2 separate regions of the Homo sapiens genome follow, and region 2 is linked to region 1. The links are contacts of gene promoters, found by promoter capture Hi-C in blood cells and fetal thymus (Javierre and others, 2016). All regions are on one chromosome and are shown on one strand. The core of a region is centred on a gene start or on the middle of the fragment in contact, and the rest is flanking DNA. Distances in the headings are between cores, read along the strand shown. Region 1 holds the start of DENND11 (DENN domain containing 11). Region 2 holds the start of MRPS33 (mitochondrial ribosomal protein S33).

The links. The method cuts DNA at HindIII sites, captures the fragments that hold promoters and counts their contacts. A CHiCAGO score of 5 or more calls a contact.
Region 2: a fragment that was not itself captured here is called in contact with the fragment with the promoter of DENND11 in region 1 in 1 of 17 cell types (total B cells); the score reaches 5.9 in total B cells.

Annotation. Positions count from the first base shown.
Region 1 is chr7:141,699,423-141,707,128 of GRCh38, forward strand. DENND11 (DENN domain containing 11) reads right to left here and starts at 2,744. Exons shown (of 9, transcript NM_001080392.2): 1 at 2,464-2,744. The coding sequence starts at 2,731. It overlaps WEE2-AS1 (WEE2 antisense RNA 1), which reads right to left. Exons shown (of 4, transcript NR_199841.1): 4 at 4,581-6,335. The HindIII fragment of the contact is 7,386 bases long and covers 1-6,559 here.
Region 2 is chr7:141,010,400-141,018,105 of GRCh38, forward strand. MRPS33 (mitochondrial ribosomal protein S33) reads right to left here and starts at 4,553. Exons shown (of 3, transcript NM_053035.3): 1 at 4,512-4,553; 2 at 20-261. The coding sequence starts at 234. RefSeq lists enhancers at 2,992-3,061, 4,204-4,849, 4,312-4,361, 4,882-5,081 and a silencer at 4,426-4,734. The HindIII fragment of the contact is 2,107 bases long and covers 2,512-4,618 here.

The DNA of each region.
Region 1 (7,706 bases), core at 1,494-3,993:
AAAATTATATGGTACAAGGTCTATCAGAGTATTTTTACAGGAAGCAAAGTGCCATTTAGGACTAGGATAGATGACAAAAGAGACAAACACATTTATGGTCAGTAAAGGACTGCTTTCCCCCCACAAAAAAACACAAAAAAAACACAAGTTACAAGTGCTCCCTCTCACACTGCGCTCTCTCTTCCTCCCTCCTTTCTCCTCCATCCCTGGATAAGTAAGGATCAGGTGCCAGGGAGCAGGGGTTCAGGCAGCATAGTATACTAGAAAGACAATGGGACTTACAGTCAAGTATTTATTGGCTACTTAATATTCCCAAATTACCTAACCATCCCTGGTATGTTCCCTCATTTACAAATTGGGTATAAATGATCATCAAATTACAGAGCAGTGATCAGAATAAATCAAACAGCATTATAGTAAAATGCCTGCACAAAATGTCTAAATGTGTTACAATCCCTTCTTTGCACAGTAGCCTTAGTCTGAAAACCATCACTCACACACACACACACACACACACACACTCCGTATACACAAATTCACAAAGCCATGCTCACTGCCTGTGACTGACAAGGAATGGGGGCAGGTACTAGCCCTCTGGCGCTTTTATCAATTGATAGATATCAATTGGCCAATATCAATAATTGATCAATTATCAGTATTATCCACCCTATCTGTCTGTAATTAGTATAAAACTTCTTTTCTCTTTCCCTTCCCTAAGACTCTACCACTGGAGCTACCAATACTAAATCAGACCGTGTGAATGTGCCCTTTCTATTCCTTCTAGTTACTCTGAAATATTTCCCAGGATAAGTCAAATGCTGGTAGCTGTTTACCTGTAAATGATGGGGTACAGTATAAGCAATATGATTAGTTACAAAGTATTGGTTTTTGTCTAGCATTACGGGTAACTTTGGTCAAAAAAGACCAATACTTTTCAAACTACTGGTATCTAGGAATCTCAAATGCGAGTCAACCAGCATGTGTGATGAACACTTAAAAAAAAGAGAAAAGAGCCACTGCATTCCAGCCTAGGCGACAGAGTGAGACACTGTCTGAAAAAAAAAAAAAAGAGAGAGAAAAAAGAATGCATTACATGTAGAAGGAGTCAGCACTACTTCATGAAATGTCTATTTCAGTTACATAAGTACTGTACGTGTATGTGAGCATATTGGTTGTGATGTAAAATTAACTTCACATGATAGATCAGTCAAAAGAGTTTGAAAGCCATGGAATGTGGCAAAGAAACAAGCAGAAGTCACAAAGGCCTGAATTGTCCCCACAAACTCTGTCCCTGCAAATGGAGCTCCACAGTGAATCCCACATTCTTCCTGTGTCCTACAGCTGAGAACCCCAAAATTACCGGCCTGGAACCCATCATCAGCTGCCATACCAGATTCCCCTTCTCCAGATCCTAACCCCTTTTTTTCTCCACTCCATCCCACCTCATCCCAGAAAGCAGCCAATATTTTCCCGCACGAACAGGCACTCCACACTCCAGCAGCTGCCCTGGAGACATTGACAGTCACACCTGGGTTTCCTTAAGCCCTGACACCACGACTCCTGCGATGACACCTCCTTCCCCCAACCCCGAACAGCAGAGCCACTCTCAGAGTCAGAAGTCCCTAGCTGACCCTCCAAGGCTTCCTGGGCGCGCAGGGTCGTTCTTCCACCTTCTGTCCCCCGTGGACTCTCACCTGGAAAACGCACACCCCCCTGCCGGGTGGTTAGGCTAAGATTATGTGGGATAAGACTTTAATTCTCCAAGCATCTCCGAAAGACAGCCTATCCGGGGAGGCTTCTCCTTTAATCAGCCTTCAGCTGAATCCCTCAGCCCCATCCCTTAATGCTCCCGGCGTTAATTCCTCAAAATAATGCAGTCAGAGAAAGTGAACTTGGCCGCTAGGAAAGTTACCCCAGAGGAAGCGACGGGGAGCTAGGGCGAGCGGGGAGCGGGGGACGGGGTGGGGGGCGAGCGGGGAGCGGGGGACGGGGTGGGGGGCGAGCGGGGAGCGGGGGACGGGATGGGGGGCGAGCGGGGAGCTCAGGGCGCTCGCCCGGGGGGTTTCCTCCGCACAACGTGAAAAATCTTCTAGCCCCCAAGAAAAGAAAACAAAACCCAACGTGGCCACAAACCGGATGCCCTGTCACTGAAGTGCGAACACCACTGTGGGGCTGGGACTCAGAGGAGAGGAGGGGAGGGGAGAGGAGGTCGGCGGGGCTGGAACAAAGCCCTCGGGGCCGCTCCGAGAGGCCGCGCGCCAGCACCCAGCTGCGCCCCGAGGGAGAGAGCTGAGGACTGGCCGACCCCCGCCCTTCCCCAAGCCCGGGAGCCCGGGGCCGGCCCTGGTGCGGGGTGCGGGGCCGGGAGGGCAGGTGCGCGCGCAGCGAGCCCCTCCCCCGCGCCCCCAAAGCTCGGGGGCACCCCGACCCTCCCCACGCGCCTGGCCCCGGCGCGGCCCTCACCCGAGCGGGGGTCGAAGGTGACCACGAACACGGCCACCACCTGGTCCTCCTCCACGTCGCCCAGCTCCAGGCGCCCGGGCTGCAGCAGCACCTCCGGGGCGGCCGGCTCCTCGGGCTCCCGCCTCCGGGGCGGCTCCGCGGCCGGCCGGGCGCCCCCGCCGCCGCCCCGGCCCCAGCCTCCCGCCTGCGGCTGCGGGGCCTGCGGCAGGGAGACGGCGGGGCCCTCGGCCCAGCGCAGCAGCGGCGCCGCGTCTCCCTGCTCCACCATGGCTAGGCGAGGCGGAGCCGCGGGCGCGAGGGGCGGGGCGGGCGGGCTGCGGGAACCCCCCTCGCCTGGCCGCGCCAACGCCGCCGCCGCCCGCCGGGTCTGGCGCTGCCCGGGGCCCCGCCGCGGAGGCGCCTTTCCCACGGAGCCAGAGCAGGCGTCCGCGGAGCCGGCTTCGGGAACCGCGAGCCTATTCGGAGGCGCCCGTGTGCACGTCCGTGTGTGGGACGCGTGCGGCCGGAACGTTCATCCTTGCGTCCATACACCTGTGTGCGGGTGGAGGTGCCTTCTCACCTAGGGTTCCGTGGTATAGCTACCACTGTGAGTTTTTATGTCACCATTATTTTTTAAAGTCCGCTGGTCCTGTGGACCGTGACAGATATGTATTACATAATCCTGGATGTGTGGCAGAAGCTGCTTCTAAGCAGAGGAGTGAAGCAGAGGTGCTCTGGCTACCCAGGTGTTTGCAATATACTCATCAATAAACACTGAAAAGGCCATAGGGTTAAAGTTTGGGAATTTTGTTCTTCCTTTTATATTACAAACTGATTAGGATGGAGATTATGAGTTTATTTCCTGGTATATATACAACTTGAGGGTATTAAATTAGGAGGTGCTGGAGCATTTGTGGGACGAGGGATATTCCCTCAGAAGATCAGGAAAAGGAAGTTGCTCAGGGGAGAAAGAGGAAAGTCAGCTCTAAAGCTGATGGCTTTGGAAATGGATTAGGGGTTTTCTGTGAACCCCCATTTTATATTTAAAAATAAATTTTACATGCCTCAATCCTTGAGGTAAATCTAGCAGCTAAGTAACTCTTTAAGAGGAGATGTGTATAAAAATAGGAATAGCTATTAAAATAGAAAGAAGGAGGTGGCAAGAGAAGGAGGTACACAGTTCATCCAGGGTTCAGCAAGGCTCCATGGTTTGCCTGTTCGCAAAAGGACCCAGTAGAGCTATGTGCTGGGTGCTACTCCACGGGATGTTTATGAACCTCCGTGTCCTACACGTCAGCACTGCAATGATAATGTGATTTAACCCCTATCCCTAAGAAGATAATCAATGACTGCCCTAGGCTGCCACTTCTAATCTAAAATCTATGATATAACAATAAAGAATGTACTTATGCAGCATTTTACCCCCAAGAACAGGGTCTACTTTCATTATTTACATATTTAGTTCAGCCTTTCCTGAAAGGTAAAACTTCAGCATAGGAATCTCTTGATTGGATCAGAAGGATGAAGAAGTAGCTGTGGATGTTTGACCAAGTTACTGATGACCTCCAGAGCTCATCCCTTGGAGCACTGACAGCAAATAAGTCAAGACGGAGCACAGTAGAGATCCATCTCTGAGAATGTCTCCTCCATACCTGCTCATTTCTTCCCAGTGAGGCACTGTGTGTGTGTGTGTGTGTGTGTGTATGTATGTATGTGATGTGGGAGAGGCAGAAACAGACATACACACATACATACACACACAGAGACAGACAGAGAGAGAGAGAGATCTTATTTCTGTGGCCGGGGGCGGTGGGGCTGGCCTTGGTGCAGGTCACACAGGTGACCCATTACCTGTTCTAATCTTAGGGACTCCGGGAATGACCACAGCCCAACTGTGACTAACAGAGAAAAGGTCAGACTAGTGGGTCTGTACCATCGTTTTAAAATGTCTGCTCCTTAAAGTATCGGTAGGATATCATCAATCTCTAAATTACTGGGACATCAAATCAGAGATCTATTCCTATTCTAAGTATGCTATGTGTTGTGTGTGTAGACAAGTGGTATGTTTCTACTGTCACAGCTATTTTGATGAATAATCTCTAGTTCTAGCAAATGGGAAACTTTGGCAAGAGAAGCAATTTGTTAAAATCTGTTTGATTTATTCATCAGATAGATTTATAGTAGATTTCAAATTAATAGAATAACCTAGGGGTTTTTATTAATGGCACTAAAGTATCCATGGGTAAAATATGTTGTCACTGATTTGCTTCACAATACCCCAGCACTCACCCTCAATGAAGTTGCAGTTATGAACTAAACAAGACTGTAAAGCCATACATAATTTTTGAAGCTAGGTTATGGATACATAAGGACTCATTATAGTATTTTCTCTATTTTTGGTATGTTTGAACATTTCCATGAGAAAAAGTTAAACAAAAAGGAGGAAAGGGTTAATAACAGACTCCTAGGCTTTAAAGCAGCCTCCAGGCTTTATTTACTTAGCCCGTAATCCTTCCTTGGAATTCTGTTGTGCCGGCAGTGCCACCCATGAGATACAATTTTATGAGCACTTTGAAATGAGAAATGTGATGGGCAAATATCAAGTATTGTTAATGATTTATGTAATTATCATTGGATTCATCGCAGCTGACAAGTGGCTGCTTCTGTACACTCTCTCAGCAGGCAGGGAGGAGATTAGAAGAAGGTCCCCCTTCAAGGTTGCTGGCTTTGCTGACCATCCTTGTCATAGGAACAGAGCTGTGAGGAGTCAGGAGCACTGGAGACCCCTAGTTTCAATGGATTCACATCCACCGCAGCGGCCCCAATCTGGACCTGGTCAGTGTTGCCGCTGCTGATGGATTTGTCCAGGGAGCAGGAGAACATACACTGGTGATTAAAATAATGTTTTCTCTAAGTTACTGCAAACTTTCTCCTGTGTAGTTGAGGCAACACTTCCAGTTGTGGTGAGAGATTGAACAAAAGAAAAAGCATACAATGTTAAAGCTGGCAGGACCTTAAAGACACTGCCTAGCCCTCTCACTCAGCAGTGAGTCGTAGATGATTCCTCCAGATCTTGACGAGGCCCACAGGCCCTTGTTTAAGAACGTCGCTTGCTGCTTTGCTGCTTCTATGGGGCACATTCTGGTGATAAAGGCCAGCTGTTTTTCTCCACCAGCATGGAGTTCTCTCAACTTTGTTTCTGGTTTTTAGAGTCCCTGGCCAATTGTCTGGAGACCCAGAGAGCCACTGTTAGTCTAAGGTCGCTTCATAAATAAGGGTAATCCCGGTCCTGGATTCTGCCAGACTCCTAGAAAGACTGACAGTGAAAGTGTCATTTCTTGCTTGGGAAACCATACTTCACAATGGTTTTCAATAGGGCAGACCCATTAAATACATAAGAATCCAACAACACTCTTTTTTCAGAGTCGGAATGACTCAGTTCTAATTCAGTCTTAAATAAATAATGTGCTGGACCTTTACTTAGGCCTGTTTAAGTGTTTTTTACAATTCTCTCTCCTGACTTGGGGGACAATTAGGCCAGCATGTTCTTCCTTGGAGCGACAAACTCTCAAATAGCTCATTTTCCATGGCCTTAGCTTTACTTTGACAAAGGAACAGTCTAACCAGGAAGGTGAATAAAAGTTTCCACGTCTTGCAAATTTGAATAGATAGATTTTCCTGCTTCTGTTCTTCCCATCAACATTTCATAGGCCTCAGAACCAAGTCTGGTCAGAGTGGAGTCTAGGTGCTTCCTTATCACTCAGCAGTGTGTCTGCAAGGGGAGAACTTCCCTCAAGCACACAGTTGAGGGAACTCAGCCCTGAGATGCAAGGCTGCCCGCTTCTTGCACATCTTACTCCTGGGAACTTCGCTTTCCCCCTGTGCAGCAACTCCTGACACATTAAGAAAAAAATTCAAATTTTTTTTAAAAAGTCAAATATGGAGTATTTTAAACATGATTGAAATATATTAATTTATTTCCCCAAATTCATCCAAAAACAATTTATTGAACACCTACTATATGTTAGGCATTAAGGGGGAAACCCTCCCCTTTTCCTCTTATTGCCACAGATTACATGGGTCCCCCTTTTGACACATCATCTCAACTATCACCTGAAGCTTTATGCTGGGATGGATGCCTGTGGGATTAACATATACTGAAGCAGAGATGAAATTTTTCATAATGGAAAGAGGCTAAAAATGAAGAAAAGGCTACAATGTGACCAAAAAAATAGTGAGGCCATGGGCCAGAGGCCATAGGTAGCACCTCTAGGGATTCCCTTGGGTCATCCAGATCAGCAACTATGCAATTCTTATTATTTAGTTGTCCAAATTTGGGATATCTTTTTTGTACTCATTGTTACACCTTTCTTATTCTGAAGACTTAGCCACAATCATTATCTTCTGAGTAACAATACATGAAAAGGTGAATGGTGCAAGTTTCTAACAGTATTACTGCCGATAACATAAGACCTCAACCATTGCAATGGCATAGCTGCCTCCCTAGGCAAACAATGTAGTCATAAATAAGGGTAATCAAGAATTATAGCAAGGGAGAGAGAAAAAGCAGCAGGTGATAGAAAAAAAAAAAGAAAACCTGGTCTACTTGGGTAATACCTAATAAACCAGCCCCTGTGCCCTGTCTACAGGACAATAATATAGCCAGTGTTTTGAGTCAGTCCTGTTTTACTGAGAGCAAAGCCAGCCTCTAGCTGCCTGGAGAGGCAGGAATGACAAGCCATGGCATGTGAGGGGAAATTCATCAACACCAAGGCTATAGAAAAGAAATCTATCATCTGGCTTGCTGATTTGTAAACAAGACACTCCTAGGCTGAGAATCCCAGTTGATAATAATTGCATTACTGGTAACCTATGAGTTCTCCTTTTTCTTTGATGATTCTGTTTTTACTGGCCCCTGTAGGATACTGAATCTCTGACAAAGGTGGGCAGTGAGTTACTGCATTTTGTGAGCAATATTTTACCCCCTGTTGAATTATCTGGGATAGTTTGTGTGGGTGGGAGGCTGTAGGGAAGGGCCAAGGAAGGATGAATTGGTGTGCCCACCTACAAAGGGCTGGAGCATGAGAAGGCTTTGAGCTGAAAAAACACTTTGAAGTCTCCCCAGTTAGTTTTCATTTGGATTACCCTCCTCAGGAGTTCTGGCTGGGAATGGGGAAGGAATTAGGAGAAAGTGGTGGAGAGATCTGTGAAAAGAGGGAAATGGAAGAGGGGTGACAGGTAGCAAAGACTATAAAGAGAAGGGA
Region 2 (7,706 bases), core at 2,315-4,814, 690 kb before region 1:
TCTTTGTGTTTGTCATCACCTGTAGAGTCCAAGAAATCGGAGCGTCTGCATGAGTTCAGCGTAAGTGTGGTGATTTGGATACCAATCATAAGTCTCCTTCTTCTTGGCCAAGGGCAGTTCACTAAACAGTTTCACCACTTTCATAGACTTGGAATTAGTAGGCCTGGTGACTTCACCAAATAGCCGGGCACTGAGACGAGACATGCGGAAGGCATATTCTGAAAGGGAGGACATTTCTTGAGTGGCAAGGAGTTAGAGTTCCTATTGAAAATGAGAAGAAAGTTAAACAGGTTAGGGTAAGAAATTCCAAGATTAGCTAATGAATAAGTTAGAAAATGCAAACACAGCAAGCCACTCATGGATCAGTGCAGTGTTGGCAGGATATGCCTTGGAGTGGAGAAGTATCCACAGTCCAAATGGCTATTTCCTTTCCATGCTTTACAGCTGCGATTTTTGCACTTCGTGTTTACATGCTATTACTTCCTTGCTGTATTGCCTCCTTTGCAACCAACTATTTTGTGATTCACCAGGTTATTTACTGACAGTCAGTTTACCTATTTGTAGGCTGGGGATGAAGAAGACAGGGAAACAAGTTATCCTAATCCAGCATCATTATACCTTCAGAAAACACCCACCTAAGCAATCTGCAGCATTAATATGCTGACTGCTTGCCATCAAAAGGTGTAATCATGGCAGAGACATAATTATGTTGTCTTTACTATCAGTCCTTTGAACACTGTTCTCCTCAAGGGCTCCAGAAGGCTCTGAGAGCTGCTAATGAGTTATGAGGTCATTTGGCTTCTAGGTTACTGAACTGAATTTTGCCTAGAGACTGAGAGCCATTTGGGAAAAACAGACAGTAGCCCTATAAAAATAAATCCAATAGCTCAAAAGATCCATTTTCTTACTAAATAGAAGGCACGTATGAATTGTAAGGTTACTTGCTGTATCCTCCATCTTATATATTCTGCTTTAATGCAAACTACCTAAGTTCTTATCAGCTGGAAACAGTAGCTTTTTCTTCAGAGACATACAACACTGAAATGGGTATAAGAATGATATCCGTGATATGCACGAATTACAGCTAACAGACATAAAAAACTATACAGGGGATACATAAAAATCAAGAAAGCTGCTGGTGGAATAACTATCTCAACTCAGTTTAGACCAGACGTAGGGGTTATTGTTGGCAGAATATGCCAATTTATGAGAAATTTTAGTAGTGAGATGAGAATCTTTGCTGACTCAGAGACTATCCTGGGAAACAGTTCAGCTGAGATGAAAAGGTGCTGATATTCAAGCAGGAAAAAGGCATAAACTTTGAAAAACCAATGGGAGAAATGTACCAAAAACCCTCCTACATAAAAATGGTGCCAAGTGAATTTCAAAATAGTTCTTGTAAGAAAACAAACCGTGTTTAAATTAAGGAAGTTTTAATGCCTGTTTCAAGATCCATTAACAGAGGAGGCTGGGCATGGTAGCTCATGCCTATAATCCCAGTACTTTGAGAGGCTGAGGTGGGAGGATCGCTTGAGGTCAGGACTTCAAGACCAGCCCAGGCAACATGGAGAAATCTTGTTTTTACAGAAAAAAAAACAAAAAACAAAAGAAAATAAGAAAATTAGTCTGCTATGGTAGTGCACACCTGTAGTTCCAGCTACTCGTGGAGGCTGAGGAGGGGGACATCACTTGAGCACAGGAGTTTGAGGTTACACTAAGTTATGACTGCACTACTGTACTCTATAGCCTGAGTGACAGAGCAAGATTGTGTGTCAAAAAAAAAAAAAAAAAAAAAGCAGAGGCTGATCTCAAACCACTGTCAACCTCAAAACCATTCAGAACACCAACCAAGCAATTTTGGGTCAATAGTGCCACCTGAAGGCTGGCAACGGTAGAACTGTCAGATCCAACGTCCACCCCTCCCTCCCCACCATCTGCAGATCACCTACAAGCCTGTTCTTCCTTTTCCATTCAGCATTCTCAGTTTCCTGATTCACTTCTTTGCCAACTCTGGTTGGGGGTGGGGTTGTTAGGACTAGGGTTATAGTCTCAAGGTGAAAAAAATTCATTTAGCAGTTTAATGTATAAACAAATCAGTGCCATAAACCTCTAAAAAGCCTTGCAAATGTCCAGAGTCACCTAGTTTCTTTGCATGCTTTTTCTCTTCCTTTGCCCTTTAAAGTTACCTTTTTCCAAACATTAGATTAAAAAACAATAGTTGCTTCATCAACTTTGCTTTGTTTGCTTAATTACCATTGTGGCATCAGAATATATTTCTGCTGTAATTGCACAGTATTTCCACAGTTAGTTATCTGTAAGCTGGTATGGGAACTATCAGTTTGTTACAGTGTTTTCAGGAAAATCTGTTCTGAATTCCAAGTCCCTTTATTTGTCAATGAAGAGGCAACAGGGATTCCTGAGGCCTAGGTTTGACTACTGGCTCTGTCACTTAATCCTTGGGTTATTGTGAACAGTTACTCATCTTCTCTGAGTCTCCTTTTCTGAAAACAAAGCTTGCATGACTAGTGCGAAAATGAGTAACAGTGGCACTGAGTAGTAAATGGTAACTTACAAAAAAGAACGAGCCCAGATCTGTAAGTTTGGTTTTCATATATTCTACATAGACACATTTGTTTATTCCTTGTTCTTAATCATGTTTAAGAAAAAAAAAAAAAGAGAGAGAGACAGACAGATAGATACTCCATATAGTAAAAACTTTGTGCCTCCCTGGAATGATGACCTCATTTACAAAGACTGACAGCCAGAGAAACATAGGGAGAGGACCAGCACCTTGATAACTTGACAAGATAGCCAGGAGGAGGAAGGGACTCAGTAGGACAGTAGTCACTGAAGCCATCACAGGATGCTGCTGTTATGTCCATGCCCATTTTGGAATGTGGCAAATTACTGGGATACATAACTTGTAAGTAAAAAGGTCACACTAGAATAGGCTGGAACATGGTTATATCATAAAATCCAAGTCCTAAAGTTTTATGACAGAGAAAGGGAATAAGCCTTTTCAAACCTGAATCCCTTACTAGAAACAAAGGCCCACTTGCTAAACAGGAGGAAACTGAAAGTGGTTTTAACAATTACCAATGACACTGCTTTGTTGTTTCCTTCCACAGTGCACAGACACATGTCTCTCACGAAGAATAACACGGGAGCTTTTCTTACAACGTGCATGTCAATTACATTTTGATTCACATGAAACCATTCTCGGGGAGTACAAGTCACTTTAAGTGTTACCTTTCTTTAAATGTGAACTAAAGAAAACTGTACTCTCATGAAAAAAGTTAACTGGAGCTGAAAATGCTAAGCAAAAACAAATTACTCAAATGTGCTGAGCAAAACAAATTAAGCCCACATGAGAAGAAAATTCCCATATTTTTACTTTGGCATAACAGGGCAAACTTCTTTGATCTTTTTGATAGGTCTGATGCATTTAAAAGATTATTTCAATAAGTGGCTTTGTATTAGGTTTGCCTTTTCTCTTTGAAAGGTAAAGATGAAGTGCAAGAGTTCTTAACCGGGATGTGCTTCAGCGTTTTGAAAACAGTGGAAGTGTACATCTGTATGCCGATATGTGTATGTATGTGTGTGTGTAAATTGTTCTGGGAGAGAGCTTTCTCCAGTTTCCCAAAAACCATTGGTTAGCAGAACGCACCAGCTGCAGAATAAAAAAGCTGGTTGGAATCTCGCCTCTGCCTTTTAATGGCCACGTCGTTTTTGTAATGGTGCTTATTCTCTGCCAGGTTCTCTCATCGACTACACGAGGACAGTCATACTATCTGCGATGTGAAGCTAATATGCAAAATTCACGGCACAGTGCCCACCCTAATAACCATCAGGATCCAAGGAATTCACATACAGTGTACACACGTTGTCATAGAAACAATCTAAACATAAAAACAATCTCAACAGAATGCTTAAAAACAAAAAAACCCGGTACCGATTATTTTACGGAGTCATAGAGGCATCAACGGCACTGAAAATGTATTAGCTGCATTCAGTTCATCAAGAACAATCTTCAACTCCCTCCACCTGACTCGATCATGCCTGACTGTGATGGAAACTGTAGTATTGTCAAGTCAACCGATGTTTGACTCGGGAGCGCATTTCGCAAATATTTTTCTTAAATATCACCTTACCGTATTTTTCTTAAGGTGGTTACAAAATTAATCTGCAGCCCACCACCCAAAGCTACAGTGCCGAAGGCCGTGTGATGAGCAGAGAAACTGAGCCTTCTACTGTTAACCAATATGGAAGAGAGTAATTGCGCCTGAGAGGAAATTACGGCAGCGGAAACGCGGGTATTCTACGTTTAAGAAATCCCCCAACTGAGGCAGAAAAAGGCCAAGTTATTTGTGTGATGCACGTGAACCGCCCGAGCTGGTCACTAATGAAGTGGATTCGCCCTATTCCTGGCGACTCTACAAGGTTGGAGACCCCCGTAGACTTCGCAGCCATCGCCCCTTGCTGCAGACCCCCAAAGTCACCGACAGCCTTACCTAGACCTGACCTTCCTCACCCACGCGCCCTCGTCCCGGAAGGCCCGCCCTCTACCCGGCTCCAAGCTCGCGCAGGCAACTATTACGGGGAGCAGTAGAGAAACGGAAGCTTGGCAGCTAGAGCGGAGCCCTAGTGAACGACCCGGAGTTACTGGCTCCCCCTCCTGAGGCCTCCGAGGTGTACCTGGCGCCTGCGCAGTAAGGCTAGCGCCGCCGCCTGTGCGGAGGACCCGGGGAGGTGGTGGGCTGGGGAGAGTTAGAAAGGTCTGGCTCTCCTGGAAGGGCATGCACGGTTCGGTAGTATGTTTTGGTGGGAATGGCTACAGACCTGCCTCCAAAAGCTCTGAAGCAATGGCGATGCGTGTGCCGTGTGGTCTTTCTGACCGACTTGCGGCGCCATCCCCCTCCCCTTCCATCTATCTGCTCATCTTCTAATAGTTAATTAGGATCCCTAGCTGCAAGCCTTCCTTGCTACTGGGTTAGGAGCGCTTTCCCCCATTGACCCAGGAGCTTCTTCAGGGAGTAGGGGATGGAACGTTTGTCTCCTCAGTAGTTATCTTAGACCTCGCTGGGCAGATAGTAGAAAGCATTGTGAGTATTTCACCCCATACTAAATCTGTTTTCAAGCAAGCCACATCCCATAGGCATTGTATGCAGCACTTACTCAATGTTTGATAGTTTGGGTGAGGAAACTGTACTCGTTTTCTGAGTATCGTTCAAGGCATTTTATAAATATTTCAAAATGTACCCTGGAATTAATATCGGTAGTGAGTTGCCTACCTAGTGGGTATTGTATTTACACCCTCTTTCCTCCTACAGAATTTACTTTTAAGTTAGAATTTGACGTCTAATCAATCTATGCTATAGGATTTGCTTTTATCAAGTTAAGTTTTGACATGTTATCAGCCTTATATGATATAGTAAACAGCCTTATAAAGTTGGGTCTAGTGACTACATTTAAGTTTACAAAGGGGTAATGAGTATCCTATACATGGCTACAGTCCAGAAAAGAAGTCCTAAGGAGCGAAACTCCTGGGAGAAATTTCGTCTTGTCTTTTGTACTTGTTTCTGTGGAGTTGGCTTGTTTTTATGTAATGGCCACTGAATCATATAAACAAGAAGACTTCCTTTACGTGTAAGCTGCTGGTTTAAAGCCAAATTTTAATTGGCTCGAGGCAAGAGCTATATATATGTGTGTGTATATATATATATACACACACATATATATATTTTTTGCATAAACCTTGTTGGCTTCGTTTTGTATATCCTTCCTGTTTTTTCCTTTTCACGTATGAATTATTGGTGTTATCAATGTTTTGTGAATTACTATAAGCTACCATAAATCTTTCTTGAAACATAGCTAGGTATATAGAGTTTCAGGTGACTGTTTAGGTACTTTGCACTATCACTTTTATTAAGTCAATTTCATGGGGGTTCATATTAGTTTCCTGAGGCTGCTATAATAAAATACCACAAACTTGGTGTTGTAGAGCAACTGAAATTTATTATCTTACAGTTCTAGAGGCCATAAATTCAAAATCAGCATCACTGGGCCAAAATCAAGATGTTGACAGGGCTGTGTTCCCTCCAGAGACTCTAGGGGAGAATCAGTTCTTTGACTCTTCCAGCTTCTGGTGGCTGCTGGCATTCATTGGCTTGTGGCCACATCACTTTAGACTTCAAGGCCAACATCTTCACATCTCTGCTCCCTTTTCACATTGCCTTCACTATGTGTGTCAGACTTCCCATTGCCTCCCTTTTAGGAATGTGTAATTGCATTTAAGGCCCATGGAGCTAATCCAAAATACTCTCTCAATCTGAAGATCCTTAATTTAGTCACATCTTCAAAGGCCTTTTCCCCGTATCTGGTAACATTTGCAGGTCCCAGGGATTAGACTCTGTTATCTTTGGGGAACAGTTTTAGCCTACCACAGGATTAGAAGGAGTAAGCCATTGAAATTGGCCAATCAGAGACTGTTACTTATCAATAGGAAAGTTGGAATATTAGGGATGGAAAAATGAAATGAATAGAATAAAATTGAACCTCCTATGGATATTGACTTCACCAGACCTTGGCTTACCCATTTACACCGCCAAGATAATGCAGTTTTAAGAGCACTTTTTATAATCAGAGATTGCTCTATAAATCAGATATTTCCTTATATATTTCTATTTTCTGTAGTCCTGTGTTTTCCAATTGTGTGCTGTGAATCATTAGTTGGCTGTGAAATCAATTTAGTGAATAGAGACCAGCATTAAAAGAAAGACATTAGGATAAAAAATATCTAAATGCATCACATGTAGTAGGGGTAATTATTGTTTCATGAAACAATATGTATATGTGCATTGGATCATAATATAAATATATTTCTTGCTGTAGGTTGTGGTAAAATGGAAAGCCTCCACTTTAAGTGATTTCATTATTCATCATACTCTTTGGCAAATGTTCTTTGTCATTAGGCAGGGCAAGAATTAAAGCTACATCAACTTAAAGTTCTTATGGTGTGGCATAGTCCAAGGGGCAGGGGAATATTTATTGCTTTAAGTAAATCAATTTACAGATACCGTATTTTCATAAGTATTCTTTCTTAGCATCATGTAGGTTCTTTTTTACATCTGCATTTACAGTAGTTCTTGGACCTTACAAAAGAAAGGTATATCCATCACTGAAGGTGTGAGGGATATACCTTCCAGGATGACAGATGAAAGGAAGATTCAAAATGTTTTGGAGGAAGCTTCCTCTAATGATCAATCAAGGCACCATCAACCCTTCTTAGGCTTCATGTCTTTTCCTATCTTACATATATTCCACTTAAGGGTGAAGTACGGCTGTCAGAAATATGGTAATTGGTTTGTTGTGATTTTCTGAAATCAGATATACTGTGTGAATGTTAGTGGTAAGAGTGACAGTAATTTTCCTTTAACCATCAGATGTCTTCCATCCTCTGTTGAAAAGTGCAGTGTTTTTGAAGGAGAATCTGGTAAGAGCAGAGCAAAGCAGCACTGAAGAAAGTATCGAAGCCAATTTTTTTTCCCGTATATTTAAACCTAAGCAATTCTTTTCAGCTATTCTCAGTACTTCTCCATAGGATATAGCATTATCTGGAAAGAAAAGCAACTCTGAACAGCTGAAGTAGTAGAGCTTTGTGACAGATTTTTTTTTTTTTTTTTTTTTTGGAGAGAGTCTCACTCTGT